Linked DNA regions of Homo sapiens: all the other regions are linked to region 1. Evidence: promoter capture Hi-C in 16 types of primary human blood cells and fetal thymus (Javierre and others, 2016). All regions are on one chromosome and are shown on one strand. Each heading gives the region's core, a stretch centred on a gene start or on the middle of the fragment in contact. The rest is flanking DNA. Distances are from core to core; before and after follow the strand shown. Region 1 holds the start of TMEM127 (transmembrane protein 127). Region 2 overlaps FAM178B (family with sequence similarity 178 member B). Region 3 holds the start of ANKRD39 (ankyrin repeat domain 39).

Region 1 (2,834 bases), core at 88-2,587:
CGGTCTTCCGATTACCTAAAATGCCACAGATTCCCTTCTTCTCTAATACGCATCCGATTACCATAGAACTCTAAGATATCTTTTAAAACCTAGTCATATTAAAAGTTCCTTTTTCTCCATTAATCAGTCTGCCCCAAAGAAGCTTTTCCGTATTTCACAGGATCCTTAGAAGAGGCCAGCTAACTGTGATACCTAGCACCCTTATCTTTTCTCGATACACAGCGTCCTTCCTCCAGCAGAATCCTAAAATAGCAGCAGTCCGGATTAACATGGCTGTGAGGAGTAGGTGCTTAGCTGAATAACATCAGAATTAATGAGGGGCCGGACCCCAAACAGAGCCACCTGGTGGGCATGAACACCAGGCAGTTATGGGGCCGTTTCCTTCAACCAAGTGTCTGGTCCCTGGCTATCTCTGCTTCAGCCAGAACACATTCTGTCCCCCACCGAGGCTTTAAGGGCCAGCGCGCAGCACCCTCACCTTTCAGCAGGTCCGGGTGCACATAGCCCAACACGTCGGAGACCCCCAGCTCCTGGCGCGAACAGGTGCCTCCGTGGATGTGCAACCAGGCGGGCTCGGCGAGGGCAGTGCACAGCGCCGTGATAGACAGGGCGCCAGGCAGGGCCGAGGCCAGGCTACGCTCCGGCTGCTTGGGCAGAGCGCTGCCTCCCGGGCTCCTCCGCCGGCGCCCGCCGGGCAGCCCTGCGCCTCCGGGGGCGTACATGCCCGGGGCCGCCCGCCGTCGCTCCGCAGTCGCTGCTGGTCGCCGCCGACCTCCGCGGGGCGCGCAGAGCCTGACAGTCCGGTGGAGGATAGCAACGCTCCGGGTTCGCTGCAGGTGAAGCCGGGACTGGGCTGTCAGGGTTGACACCAGAGGATAGGGGGGTGGGACCCGGGGCTGACGGAGACGGGGAGGGCTGCGGGAATTCGGGGGGCGGAGACAGGAGACTCCGGAATGGGACTGCGGGACGACAACCGAAGAGGGCCAGGGGCCAGATGGGGTCTGGGCAGACTCGAGTGGGGGGCGGAGGGATCGGGGATCGGCTACTGCTAGAGCAAAGACCCGGAGTCAGGGTCTCAGCCAGAGGATGCCGAGGGGCGGAGGACCGGGCTGGGCCGCGGGGATCGGGGACCCGTGATCTGGGACCGGCGGTTTGGGGTGCGACCTGTGCGCAGAAAAGACCCTCCCCACGCCGCCCACTGTTCCTCACCAGTCAGCAGGCCCCAGGGCTGGGATGGTGCTGCTCAGCCCAGTCACGGGCTTCTCGGCTGCCGGGGGCCGAGCGTTCCCAGGCCCCAATCCCGCAACGCCCGGACAGACCCGGGGCCGATGCACTTCCGGCTTCCTCCTCCTCTGCCTCCGCCTCCTCCGGCTCCCCGCCCCGTCCCCCGCGCGCGTCACAGCCTGGGCGCGCCGCCGGCTCTGCGCAGGGCCTCACGGGACTGGTAGTTCGAGGCGGTCCCGCGATGCTTTCCCTGCCGAGGTGAGGGGAGCGACTACAACTCCCAGAGGGTATGGCGGCCGCAGCAGTGGGCAGTTGAGTTTCCGGGGCGACCCAGGTCCTCCGGCGGAAGCGGGAGCCTCTGTCGGCCGCGGAAGCCTGGAGTGGGCGGTACGCAGACGCGCGCGGTGAGACCCGCTGTCTGCTCAGCGGACTCTGCCCGCCCCCACCTCCCCCTGCGTCGGGCCGACATGAAGGACTCGCTGGTGCTGCTGGGCCGTGTCCCGGCGCACCCGGACTCCCGCTGCTGGTTCCTGGCCTGGAACCCCGCGGGGACCCTGCTGGCCTCGTGCGGCGGCGACCGGAGAATCCGCATCTGGGGCACGGAGGGTAAGGCCCAGCCTGGTTGCGCGGCCCTCAGCGCTGAGGGCTCAGCCTGCGCGTAGTGCAGGCGCTCAGCCTGCAGGGGAGGCTGAACCTGTTCCTGGCGGAGGGAGAGTGGGATGTTAGCCACGCCGAGAAGGGCTTTACAGGCAAAGAAGTCTGCGACTGTTGGGAGGAAAAACGTCAGCAGACAAGCTGAAATGTCAAGGGAATTGTGTTAGCTGCAGAGGCAGGAAAATGGGAAAAGAGAGGTGTTAGGAAAGTGGCCTTCAGAGTAACTTGCGACTGGATGGTCACATTTTATCCCGAGGGCATTGGGGAACCAATAGCAATTTTAGATCAGATTTGTTTTAGAAAGATGCCTCCAGAGGTTGGGCGCGGTGGCTCACGCCTGTAATCCTAGCAGTTTGGGAAGCAGAGGCGGGTAGATCACCTGAGGTCAAGAGGTCAAGACCAGCCTGGCCAACATGGTGAAACCCCGTCTCTACTAAAACTACAAAATTAGCTGGGCGTTGTGGCGGGCACCTGTAATCCCAGCTACTCGGGAGGCTGAGGCAGGAGAATCCCTTGAACCCAGGAGGCGAAGATTGCAGTGAGCCGAGATTGTGCCATTGCACCCCAGCCTGGGCATCAGAGCAAAAACTCCGTCTCAAAAAAAAAAAAAAAAAAAAAAAAAAGCTTCCAGACGAAGTAGATTCATTTGCATCTTTGTAAAAGCTGTGAAATACACTCCCTGAGCTTTCCCCCACTAGCTTGATTCCAGTGCTAGCCCCTGATATTGAATGGCTTCATGGTGCTGCACCCAGCTCCAGAGCCTGGCCTGCGCTCCGCCTTTAGGTGACAGCTGGATCTGCAAGTCTGTCCTTTCTGAAGGCCACCAGCGCACCGTGCGGAAGGTAGCCTGGTCCCCCTGCGGTAATTACCTGGCCTCTGCCAGCTTTGATGCTACCACTTGCATTTGGAAGAAGAACCAGGATGACTTTGAGGTACCCAGGCTGGTTGGGACCAGA
Region 2 (2,834 bases), core at 142-2,641, 640 kb after region 1:
TGGTCAGGTGGTACATGGATGATCTCTTTTGCAAAGGGCACGAAGTGTCCACCTATGATATGGGTCCTTCCATTCACACGTATTATAAGTAAATTAAAAGGTACACATGAACAATCATACCAACTTCCATTCTCATCTCCCTCTTTGTATGATAAAAATCACAGAACCTCAGGCTTAGAAAACACCTTGAAGTCTGCTGGGCGCAGTGGCTCTCGCCTGTAACCCCAGCACTTTGGGAGGCTGAGGTGGGAGGATCACCTGAGGTCAGTTCGAGACCAGTCTGGCCAACATGGTGAAACCCCGTCTCTACTAAAAATACAAAAATTAGCCGGGTGTGGTGACAGGTACCTGTAATGCCTGCTACTTGGGAGGCTGAGGCAGGAGAATCACTTGAACCTGGGAGGCAGAGGTTGCAGTGAGCCGACATCACGCCACCGCCCTCCAGCCTGGGCGACAGATCAAGACTCTGTCTCAAAAAAAAAAAAAAAAAAGAAAAAAGAAAAAAGAAAACACCTTGAAGTCACCTAATCTAGCTTCTGCATAGTTATCCATTTTAATTCTCTTTGCCACACCCCCAATAAGTGTTCACTTCAGCAAAGGAAGTGCAGTATCTGCCAAGACAGCCCAAATTCATTTACCGGACTAACCAAAGGAAATCGTTCCCATATTTTGCCAAAACCTGCCCTTCTGGGACTTCCACTCAAAGCTTCTGGATCCTGTCCTCTGGGGCCTCCAGGAGGGAGCTCTCCGCCAACCTAGGTCCTCTACGCTTGGAAGAAGTTGCCACATTCCCGTGGCTGCCCCTTCCTGCAGGTGCCACAGCCCCCTCATTCCCATCTTTTTGTATCTTTTTTTGCCATTTTGGTTTGGGTCCTCTGACGGCCCTGGGGGTTGTCAATGTTCCCTTTCAAGTGCGACACTCGGAGTTGAGGCTGATGCTCATTTTCTTGGCAGCCCCACAACACAACGCAGTTAACAGATTGAGCCCAAAGTCTTTTTTTTTCACACGTCTTGCTGTCAAATCCCATTTCCCAGATCCTGTTCTTAATTGTGCAGCTGGGCCTCCCTTTTCAACTCAGTCCATCATTACAGTCTGTTGAGATCTTCTGGGATCTTCGGTCTGCTGTCAGTTGTATTCATGTCATCTGTGAATCTGACCATTGTTCCATTAATAGCCTCATCCAAAACACTGGGCCTGCCCTGGCCAACCTGTGAGTGGAGACAGAACTCGGGGTGGTGACAGGGCCTGCCCTCTGGGCACACTCTGATGGCCAGCAGCACCTTTTGATAATGAGCCCACTTCATTCTGTCATCATTTGACCCGCATTCCTTCATGCCGAACCCAGCCTATGGTGACAGCCTCTACCAAATGCCCAGGAAACCTACATACAGGCACTGCACAGTCCTCTCTGGAGTATGATTCTGGTTGACCTGTGGAAAAGTGAGGCTTGCCTGGTATGATTTCTTGTTAGGACTCCTAGAAAGCAGTGTTTCCTTTTCTACGTATGTGCTCCCAAGCCGGAATCCCCTAGAGAATAACCTGGAGGAGCACATCAAGCACCATTGCCCCCATCTCCTGGAAGCCCTCCGCCTCCAAAAGTCCCCATGGAGCCACGGCCCCAACTTCATGTCTCCCAGGAGCAGTGAGACGCCGTCCCACCGGGGAGACGGCCTCCTCTGCACAGTGAGGTTGGTCATGCAGCCTCCCACACTCTCTTAGGCTTTAACCCCCTTCGACGACCAATATTTGATTCCAAATGAAAAACTGTTCTCCTTGACAAAGACGGCAAAAGCAAAATACGAATTGTGTAGTGTTGTTCCGTCTGCATCAGGGCTAACGTTTTACTGTCAGCCCCAAACCGCACTCCTTGCTTCAAAAGTAACTACACAGAAACTCCTTTTATGGCCTTCGGCATTTCCCAACAACACTCCCGCTGGTCCACGCCGTTTGTCCGGCTACCTTACTTTGGTGCCCTTCTTTCCAAACCTGAGACCACGAACAAGCTCTGAGGGGAGCCCCTGCAGCCTTTAATGCTTCCCTTCTTTTCCTCACTGGGCTCCTTTGTAATCCATATTCAAAGCTTCAGTGCAAGATCTCCCAGCCCACCTGAGACATCTCTCTTCTTAATTTTTTTTTTTTTTTTTTTGAGACAGTCTTGCTCTGTCGCCCAGGCTGGAGTGCAGTGGCGTGATCTTGGCTCACTACAACAACCTCAGCCTCCTGAGTAGCTGGGACTACAGGTGCACACCACAATGCCCGGCTAATTTTTGTATTTTTAGTAGACCCGGGGTTTCACCATGTTGGCCAGGCTGGTCTTGAACTCTTGACCTCAAGTGATCCACCTGCCTCAGCCTCCCAAAGTGCTGGGATTACAGGTGTGAGCCACCGTGCCTGGCCCTAGAATCTTTTTTTTTAAGTTCTACCTCTTTATGCTTCTTTGAAATCTACCCTCCAGAAGCAGACAAAGCACGAGTGTGCTGAGTGAGTCCCCCTGCCATGCCAGGCTCTGTGGACTCAGGGAGTACGGCCACAGCACCTGTCCCTCTGATGCTCACGGCCCGCGTCAGTGAGGGGGACAGCCTGATGGGCCTGCAACAAGGGCTGCTCGAAGAGGAGATGCCTTGGCCGGAGCCTCGTCTTGAGGCTGAAGAGATGTGAACCAGGCAGAGGAGGACAATGGGAAGAGGCCTCTCCAGGAGGAGACAGATGCGGAAAAGCTTGGAGGCAAATGATCATCTTGAGTTGGGGTGGCTGCCAAGTTCTAGGACGCGGCAAAAGCGTGGAAGCCTGCAGGGAGCAGGGTGGCATGTGAGCCTGGGAAAGGGGGCACCAA
Region 3 (2,834 bases), core at 108-2,607, 590 kb after region 1:
CCCTCCTGATTGTGACAACCCAAAATGTCTCCAGATATTCAAAGTCCCTTAAAGGGCAGAACTGCCCCCAGTTGAGAACTGGGGTGTTTAGGGAGGGTCTCTGAGGAGATGACATTGGAGCTGGGATCTGAAGAAAAGCATCAGCTAGCTTAACGGTTGTAGGAAGTTCATTCTAAGGAGATGGGACAGCAAGTCCAACGGCCTTAACTCAGGAAAAGGTCTTGCATATTTGAGACACCAAAACAAGACCAGTGTGGCTGCGGCGTAGTGATTGGGGGAAGAAAAGCATGAGAAATAAAATGAGGAGGAGAAGTAGAACCGGCAGGGGTGGGTCTACAGAGCTTTGTAGGCCATAACAGGGAATGATGTGATTTCTAATTTTCAAAAAGCCGCTCTGGCTGCTATGTGAGAGTAGAAAACCCTGTAGGAAGGCAAGCGTGGAAGCAGAAAGACCCTCTGAGGCAACCACTTCAGCAGTGCAGAGGACAGCGGTAGGAGGGGCGGAGGGAAGTAGGCAGGTGCCAGAACCACGGTAAAGGAAGAGTTCCATGAGAATGCTTACACAGCAGTGGCAATCGAGGGCTGCATCCGCAAGGGCAGATGACACAGCACAGTGGTTCCCAACGCTCACAAGAAGCACCCTGGTTTCCCGCCTTCCTCTGTTCCTATTGGCACCATAATCTCTGTATAATCTGGGCCAAACGTGTTACCTCTCTGGGTCCCACAGATGAGATACTGTGCCCTGCCTCGAAGGCTGCCCGTGCGAAGCTCTTGCCATCTTTAAAGCATGCAGGCTGCCTGGCACCCGGGGCTAAACAAAGGCCACTGCTCTCCTTCACCGCGCAGCCCCCAGGCCTGCAGCTCCATGCCCCTCAGGTTGGGTGCAATGCCCCTGGTGCAGATTCTGCTCCCCGGGCCCTCTCTCAAACACCTGAGCAGGCTTGTGTCTCCCAGGGGAGGTCGTCCCCCGCTACTCGGGAGGGTTACGGAAACCAGTGCTTCCGCTTCCCCGCCGCCCGCGGGACAGGTGTCTCCTGGCCGAGCTCGTGCGGGGCCCTGGGAGGCTCTCAGTACACGGGAACCGTGGGTCCCGCCCGCCTTCCCGCACCAGGCCCCAAGCCCCAAGCCCCAAGCTCTCGGGGCCCCGTTCATCCGCCTCTCCTTGGCCCCACGCCTCCTCCTTGGGCCGGGGCCTGGTGAGAACCACGAGGGCCGCGCGGCAGCCTCACCCCTCTCGAAGTCCATCTCCTCCAGCGTCTGCTGTACGCCGAGCACCGCGCTGGGATGCGAGCAGCAGGGCCCGTCCGCGCAGGGCCGAGGCGTCGCCATCCCGGCCCCGGCGTCAGTCGATCCGCCCCGGGTCTCAGGCTCAGCCTCGGCGGGAGGGGCGGACGCAGGGCCCGCCCCGCGTCCCTGATCTGGCCGCTCGGCGTCCGCGGCTGTCGCCCTAGTCCCGCCTTCTCGCCAAAGCTGACCAATCAAACGCCTAGGCCTTAGCTCGAGAACCAATTGCAACGGTAGGGCGGGGCTTGTTGCGCCCGGCCGTGCCCCGAGGCCTCCGCGCGAGGGCGTCCAAGGCCAAGCGAGGACTGAGGCGCTGGGTTCCGGGAGCCGCGCGCCGCTGGAGGGCCGCCGGGCCGCCTGGCCTTGCAGGGTGTGGGGATGAGGCAGCTGGGTCCGGTCGGGAGCTTTCCCGTTACCTTCGCCATGACCCAGCCGTCCAGCGACCTCGCAGCCTCCTCTCTTTACCGCCCCTAGTCCCTAGGGCAGGGAGGCGCCACGCGCTCCGCGGTCTTTTTTTTTTTTTTTTTTTTTTTTGAGACGGAGTCTCGCTGTCACCCAGACTTGTGTGCAGTGGCGCGATCTCGGCTCACTGCAACCTCCGCCTCCCGGGTTCAAGCGATTCTCCTGCGTCAGACTCCTGAGTAGCTGGGACTACAGGCGCCCGCCACCACGCCCGGCTAATTTTTTGTATTTTTTAGTAGAGACGGGGTTTCGCCAGGATGGTCTCGATCTCTTGACCTCGTGATCCGCTCACCTTGGCCTCCCAAAGTGCTGGGATTACAGGCGTGAGCCATCGGGCCGGGGCGCGCTCCACGGTTTTTAGCCCCTCTTCCTGGCACCACCCCGGACCAAGGCCGACCGCCCCCGGGGCAGCGGCAAAGTGACGGCTGGAAAGGCCTCGAGACGCCCCTCCCCGTACCCTGCTCTTCCTTACAAGTCCAGCAAGGGGCAGGTGGCCACAACTTGTCCTGCCTGTAGCTCCACCTCAGGGCAGGGGCAGGGCCTTGGTTTGTGCAGAACCCCCTGGCCCCACAGTGGGCGCTGAGTTTACGGAATCGGTCTTCATGATCAAAACCCACCGGGAGGCCGTCTGCGGACCGCGCACCTTCGCAGCGTGCTCCTCAGCGGACCCCAGCCTTCTCAATTCCCAGTTAAAACCCAGGCAGCTGCCTGCTCAAGCCACGATCAAGTGTACAGGGGAGACCGCCTGATCGGCTTAGAAAGAGTGCATGAACGACAGAATGCAGGTTGGGTTCTGTGCCAGTCCCTCTCCAGGACAGTGGTCTGGTGCACACTGGATGTAAGTTCCTTCCCCCGCTAGTTGGGGCACGGAAGACCCTAGCATTCCTGGTGGGTAGAAGGCTGGAAGTCGTTTCTCCTCCCCTAAGCAGGTTGAGAACCCCATCCTCACACAAGCAATGATCTCATCTCCACAACCTTCCACTCCTTTGGCCCCTCATTCCCACTACCCGTCTTGAGTTCTGGGAAGGCACCCCCCCCACCACTCCGCTTCTCCCCTGGACTCCCAGTGCCCTGACTTCTCCTTCTGG

Evidence for each region. Contacts are between HindIII fragments. The CHiCAGO score rates a contact against its expected background, and 5 or more counts as called.
Region 2: a fragment that was not itself captured here is called in contact with the fragment with the promoter of TMEM127 in region 1 in 1 of 17 cell types (total CD8 T cells); the score reaches 5.3 in total CD8 T cells.
Region 3: a contact is called between the fragment with the promoter of ANKRD39 here and the fragment with the promoter of TMEM127 in region 1, in 3 of 17 cell types (non-activated CD4 T cells, fetal thymus and naive CD8 T cells). The highest score is 8.0, in non-activated CD4 T cells.

The regions. Positions count from the first base shown.
Region 1 is chr2:96,264,660-96,267,493 of GRCh38, forward strand. TMEM127 (transmembrane protein 127) reads right to left here and starts at 1,338. Exons shown (of 4, transcript NM_017849.4): 1 at 1,210-1,338; 2 at 479-853. The coding sequence starts at 722. CIAO1 (cytosolic iron-sulfur assembly component 1) reads left to right here and starts at 1,566. Exons shown (of 7, transcript NM_004804.3): 1 at 1,566-1,830; 2 at 2,662-2,810. The coding sequence starts at 1,692. RefSeq lists silencers at 598-907, 958-1,167, 1,178-1,227 and enhancers at 1,458-1,647, 1,878-2,157, 2,755-2,834. The HindIII fragment of the contact is 2,360 bases long and covers 141-2,500 here.
Region 2 is chr2:96,908,670-96,911,503 of GRCh38, forward strand. All of the region lies in intron 12 of FAM178B (family with sequence similarity 178 member B), which reads right to left. Among named protein-coding and RNA genes, the nearest start is that of SEMA4C, 40 kb to the left of the region's middle. The HindIII fragment of the contact is 1,375 bases long and covers 705-2,079 here.
Region 3 is chr2:96,856,659-96,859,492 of GRCh38, forward strand. ANKRD39 (ankyrin repeat domain 39) reads right to left here and starts at 1,358. Exons shown (of 4, transcript NM_016466.6): 1 at 1,230-1,358. The coding sequence starts at 1,329. RefSeq lists silencers at 1,019-1,188, 1,219-1,888. The HindIII fragment of the contact is 20,079 bases long and covers 1-2,834 here.